Linked DNA regions of Homo sapiens: region 2 is linked to region 1. Evidence: promoter capture Hi-C in human tissues and cell types (Jung and others, 2019). All regions are on one chromosome and are shown on one strand. Each heading gives the region's core, a stretch centred on a gene start or on the middle of the fragment in contact. The rest is flanking DNA. Distances are from core to core; before and after follow the strand shown. Region 1 holds the start of NDN (necdin, MAGE family member). Region 2 has its middle 84 kb from the start of PWRN4.

Region 1 (3,096 bases), core at 326-2,825:
GGGTTGTATATGTGTTTAGTAAAGTGTGCCAAGTGCTCACACTGAGACCAGTCCAGTTCAAATTAGTGTACTCCACGAGGGTGTTTTCTGTGCCCAGCAAGGTCATGAAGGGCCTTGACTTTTCTTGGTTAGGCCGGCTTTGCTGGTGACTTCTTCCAAACTCTGCAGGAGCAGTCTACCCCAACACACATCATCAGTCCCATATAAAAGAATAAGATGGAAACTTTCTCAATGTATTTCATCAGTTTAGCACATCTCTGGTACAAAAATCCAAGAAAGGTAGCACAAAAGCGAAAGCACCAACCAAGCTTACATATAAACAAACATGCATACATCCTAAATACTACACAATAGTACCCAAATGAATACAACATTGCATTAAAGGTATAAAAGCACTGTACTGAAAACTTAAAAGTTACACGTGAATACTGCACTGTAAATCCTGAATACTATAATGACCCACCCCCACCCTTCCACAGCCCTGGTGAGGGTCAGAAACCATTCATCTGCCTCCAGACTTTGCTAGTCCTCAGAGACACTGCTGCGAGGGTAGTGGGCAGTGGGATTAGCCTCCCGCAGAGCTCTGGCCTCCTCCAGAGCTTCTCTGTATCGGGAGGGCCAGGCCTGGGGGTCTTTCTTAAAGACCCTGGCCAGGAACTCCATGATTTGCATCTTGGTGATTTCGCGGCTGGCCCGGGAGCCCCAAAAGAACTCGTATTCGGGCGGCTCCACGTATGGGACGCGCTGGTACTTCAGGTAATTCATTTGGACGAACTCCTCAGTGATGAGCTTCCGCACGTCCCCGAAGGTGGAGTGCTTCTTCCAGGGCCGCAGCCCCAGGATGCGCAGCACGTTCCAGACGGCGCTCTCTCTGGCGCCGCGGCCCTTCACGTAGATGAGGCTCAGGATCATGAGCAGGAGGCCTGTCATGGGCATGCGGTTGCTCAGCGCCACCCTGTCCAGCTCCTCGGGCTCCAGCGCTTTGACCAGCGCAAACTCCATGGTGTGCAGGCTGGTTAGCCTCAGGTGCAGCCCGAACACCCGGGCGAGGATGAGGCTGGTGCGCCGGAGGATGCTCCTGCACCACTTCTTGTAGCTGCCGATGACATCTTTCACCATGTCTGGAAACCAGATGATCATCTTCTTCTGGTCCTTGACCAGCACGTACCACATGAGCTCGTGCGCCTTCTGCACCAGCTGCGCCGGGGCTGGCGGTGCCGGGCCCGGCTGGGCCGCGCTCGGGGCCTGGTGGGCGCGGCCCTCCTCCGCAGCCTGCTGCAGGGCCTTCGGGTCGCCCTCGTCGTTCGGGGCCTGGGGAGGCGGCGCGGCCTGCGGAGCGGCCGTCGGGCCTAGAGGAGGGCTCTGCGGCTCTGCCAGGGTCGCGGACGGAGGAACCCCCTCCGAAACCCCAGGGCTGCTGTGCACCTCGGAGTTGGGGGCCTCGGCTGCAAAGTTAGGGTCGCTCAGATCCTTACTTTGTTCTGACATGTCTGCGCCGTCTGGCAAGGGCAGGGCCTCTGCGTCCAGGAGCTCTTCGAGCCTGCGCTCCCTCCGCGGATTCCTGGAGAGGAAGTGCGCGTTGCTGCGCGCGGCGCCTTCCGCAGCGACGGGCAGGGCGGGGCGGCGGCGGGACGCGGCACTGCGCCTGCGCGACCGCGGCCTTGGCCAGCGGCTGGGGGCGGGCGGGGCAGCGCGGGGCCCCGACGGGGAGGGTCCATGGCGAGGCTTCACCTGCTGGGAGAGCGATCCCGGGGTTTCCTGTTTGGGCTGAGAAGATCTAGGGCAGGAGAGAAGTGAGATGGATGCGTACTGGAGAAGGGGCCAGTTTAAGGGAAAGATACCTTAAGTTTTTGGGATGTTGGGGTCAAGTTTCTTGGGAAACGCTTACCTGGGTATATCCAGAATTAAGTTAAATATGAGAGTCCCAGAGAAAGGTCTGGGCGGCTTTGTAAACATGAGCTTTATGCGAACCAGTGAGAGGAACAGTCGGGCTTGTCCAAGAAAATGTGTAAACTGTAAAGTGGATGTCTGAGGTTGGAATCCTGAGAAATTCCAATAAAAAATGATCGACTCCCTACCAAATCAGATAGGCTATAAGAAAAGGGGAAATGCAGTGTGTCGTTAACGTAATTTCCTATCAACCCATGTGAACTATGAACTTTTTAAGTAGGCAGTGGACTTAGAGCATCATTAATGCTTTAACGGGCATAAATTTGGGTTTTACACTTCCTTTGGGTAACTTTGATTCCATTTTATTTTTTTCCATACTTAGTCCATAGCAGAAGGATTGCTATATCTTTTAGCACAAACTTGTATGATAATGTCTTTTCCCTCTGCCCAGCACCCTCATTCTTCAATTCACCTTCTCTCAGGACCCTCTCTGAAGCTACTGAGTCCTCCACGTTGGAAGCCACACCCAAGTCTTTCCTGAGATTTAAAAAAAAAATAGGTCCCATGGGTAATATCTGGTAGTGTCTCTGAGATGACCAAAGGGTAGCAGGGGAAACATAGGTAACCCTGTTTTCCAGGTATGGAAAACAGATTCCCAGTGGGCAAAGACAAAACTGTCACTCCTACAGGCTCTCCATGAAAAAAAGGGTCATTGCCTGAGCATCTGAAACCAGGGACCTTAATGCTGCTTCAGCATCCTTGGTCTGGGCTGATGTGGTCCTTCAGCTCTTCCCGGGTTTCTTCTCATCAGCAGCTTCTTAAATATGCTGTCTTGAATCTAGTTATTGCCACTCGAAGCCAAAAGCATATTTAAAAATTGTCTTGACATGTCTAGAGTCCTCACTGTGAGTATGTATCTTTTCCCACTTTATTTTTCCTCAAGCAGGTTGATGTTGAAAGGTTTTCTGTGCTTTCTCTCTTTGGGTTTGCACGCACATAACACTTTTGGCAGAGCCATTACCACACCAGTCCCTCCAACAGGACTCTTAAGCTTCCCACTTCACCAGGGTAATTCCTAGATATCAGTCTTAGTTGGAATTATTTCAACACTTTTCTCCTCCTCCTCACCCTCCTCCACCTCCTCCTTCTCCTCTCCATCTACTTCTCCTTTTTCTCCTTCTTCTATTTATAGATATCTACCATTTT
Region 2 (3,252 bases), core at 187-2,686, 200 kb after region 1:
AGCAAGTAGGTAAGAGCTCTGGGGGGCACACTGTGACTGAGGGGGTCACTGAGGCATAACTGCATAGTAAATGTGGGTTGTGAGGGGTCAGCCAAGTGAGACAAGTGTTATACCTAGCTGTCCCACAGAGGCCATCACCAGGATGTGGTTGTGGAAGGTTGTGGAAGGGGTCTGGATAGACCCCACCAAGGAACAGGGAGAAGGTGAAAAACTAGCAACCTTGCCTTAGGTGATTAAACCCTGCTTTTTGAATAAGTTAAATCTCTATTCAAAATGGATGCCTGAGCAATATAAAGTTATAATAATTTACTATAGTACTTAAGAGTTCCAGTAATCTACTAATAACTCTAAAATCTCTAATCCCTCAGTAGAAGACAAATGGAGTTGGCCAATATATATTAAACTATATTTAAGAATGTTTTCTCGGCTGGGTGCGGTGGCTCATGCCTGTAATCCCAGCACTTTGTGAGTCCCAGGTGGGCGGATCAGGAGGTCAGGAGATGGAGACCATCCTGGCCAACATGGTGAAACCCCGTCTCTACTAAAATACAAAAAATTAGCTGGGTGTGATGGCGGGCACCTGTAGTCACAGCTACTTGGGAGGCTGAGGCAGGGGAATTGATTGAACCCAGGAGGCAGAGGTTGCAGTGAGCTGAGATCATGCCACTGCACTCCAGCCTGGCGACAGAGCAAGACTACATCTCAAAAAAAAAAAAAAGTTTCTCAATAATAGACCAAAATACAGCAGATAAACCCCATGATTTTACAGTGAGGAGGAAGGAGTCACAGAGAAAAAATAGTGTATTTCATTGAAGCCAGATTATACAACTCACATTTCTCAAATAGGGTTGTATCTCAAAAATGATAATGAAAACACCACTGTGAGGAGGCAGTCATGATGTGATTAGCCTCATGTGAACATGCACTTGGTCTAAAAACCTTCCATTGACACATTCCAGTGAGATCATCAACATCAAAAGTTGCAGAGGGGCTGTAAGTATTTTGGAAAGATAATCTCATGGAGACTGTCACGTGACCCTCATAACAAAAGTGGCATCATCACAGCTTCTGATAAGGACAAATGATGTTTGTATGGGACAAATCATGGAGAGGATGAATTAAAAACTATTTCAGAAAACTTTATCTTTTCATGGGAGATATTTCAGAATTCACTTTGTTAATGTATTCTGCTTATAGTTTCCATCTCATGTAATCACACGATTTATATAAGACAAATGTCTACATTTATATAGATTGAAAAGTTTTTTCAACAATTATAAGAAAAAATGTTAAGTGATAAGAATGATCTGTGGCATAATCGGTAAGTAGTTTTATTATTCCAGTGTCATATATAAAGTAATGATACATCATTCAATTGGTGCAAATGATACATATTGCAATTACTTAGAAAAAGCTGTCAGTATTATCAACTACTAATTTAGTAGTTAGTATATACCTTCTATTCATCACAGGCTTTGAGTATTATTAGTAATCCTCACAGCATGCCAAGATATAGGGATTACGATCACACTCATGTTTCAGTTCTGAAGCTGAGCCTAAAGATCCACAAGAAAGGAATGAAAGAAGCTTAGGCTTTATTCTGCCTATCTCTAGAGTCTTTGCTGACATCAACAATAGTAGCATACCTTTTTCCTCACATGAAACATACTTTCAGGTCTTACTTTAAGAAATATTGGCCGGGCATGGTGGCTCACGCCTGTAATCCCAGCACTTGGGGGACCAAGGCGGGCGGATCACTTAGGTCAGGAGTTCAAGACCAGCCTGGCCAACGTGGTGAAACCCCGTCTCTACTAAAAATACCAAAAGTAGCCAGGCATGGTGGTGCATGCCTGTAATCCCAGCTACTCAGGAGGCTGAGACAGGAGAATCACTTGAACATGGGAGGCAGATGTTGCAGCTAGCCGAGATTGTGCCACTGCACTTCAGCGAGACTCCATCTCAAAAAAAAAAAAAAAGAAAGAAAAGAAATATCACGGTAATAAAGTTATTTTCCTAAGTTAGGGTCTAACTACTGGAAATTGTTTTTGTATTTGAAGTTTGTGATCCACCTGGAATTGCTTTTTGTGTGTAACATGAGCTCAAAGGTCAGATTTTATTTCCCCTGTATGGATATTCCATTTCCTGGAACAGTATTGATAACTAGTCTTTTCCCAATTTTCTCCTTTATAAATTGCTTAGATATGCATATGTGTGTGTGTGTGTGTGTGTGTGTGTGTGTGTGTGTTTTAACTCTCTTATTTTTTTCATTGATTTATTTTTCTATCTCTGTGCACATACCACACTGTCTTGTTCTTAAGAAAGTTCATTTAACAGAAGAATTTTTCCCTCAAAGCCCATTTTCTTAAACACTGTGTTATGGTGTCATAAAGAAAAAGAAGAGTAAAACCTCCATGCCCTGTACCTACACTGATATTCCCAGTTGTACCGCAAATAAGGATATTTTAGAATTTTACAACACTACTAACTGTTGCTTATGTCTTTAACACCCTTGTGAATCTTAGGCAGTCCTCCCATGCCACTTCCAACTTTGTTTTTTTTTAGTACATTCTCGCTGAATTTCATTCAATCTCTCGCCTCCTCATTTCCCTTCCCTGCTTTCTGGAGCCTTAGGAACTTTCTACTCTGAGAGCAGCAGCCAGCAGGGAAGGAACATACACAGACACCTCTGCGTGTCTCCCTTGGAAGCACAGATGCTCCGATGGTTGGTCCTGCTCCTTCTCTGGACCACATCTGCCAAGGATGGGGCCACAGCCTGTGCATCTGAGCTCAGAGCCTGTTGTGGGATCTGCAGGAGCAAGACCAGTTGCCCCCTGCCTTCTCTCTGAGGTCGATTGGGCAATTCCATTATTTTGCATAAAGATCAAGTTTGTTCAACAATCATCTTGCTTGCTGACCCCAAACACATGCCCACTCAGGCCTTGCTTTGAAATATATGCTCTCGCTGTTTGTCTTGGCATGCACATATCTTCAACACTTATGTATATTTTAGGGGGGCATATATAAACATTATCTACAACTGAATTTGTATGTTTATATTGTATATTAATACCTTTCATATCTGTATTTAAAAATACATTCATAATAATGTTTCAAAAAATCTTTTTCAATTATTTTCATCTTTTCAAGCATCACTTTTTCCTAAGTTGAAAGGGAAGATCACTTTTATTAGGAAAGACAGATGGTGCACATTCTCTGTTAGTGTTTTCTAGAAACGCCTTCTGAGTGTGCAGA

Evidence for each region. Contacts are between HindIII fragments. The study calls those that stand out against the background at their distance.
Region 2: a contact is called between a fragment that was not itself captured here and the fragment with the promoter of NDN in region 1, in 8 of the 25 tissues and cell types used here (IMR-90 fibroblasts, adrenal gland, dorsolateral prefrontal cortex and 5 more).

The regions. Positions count from the first base shown.
Region 1 is chr15:23,685,730-23,688,825 of GRCh38, forward strand. It overlaps NDN (necdin, MAGE family member), which reads right to left and starts at 1,576. Exons shown (of 1, transcript NM_002487.3): 1 at 1-1,576. The coding sequence starts at 1,488. The coding sequence ends at 523. The HindIII fragment of the contact is 8,447 bases long and covers 1-3,096 here.
Region 2 is chr15:23,889,385-23,892,636 of GRCh38, forward strand. No RefSeq gene overlaps it. Among named protein-coding and RNA genes, the nearest start is that of PWRN4, 84 kb to the right of the region's middle. The HindIII fragment of the contact is 6,351 bases long and covers 1-3,252 here.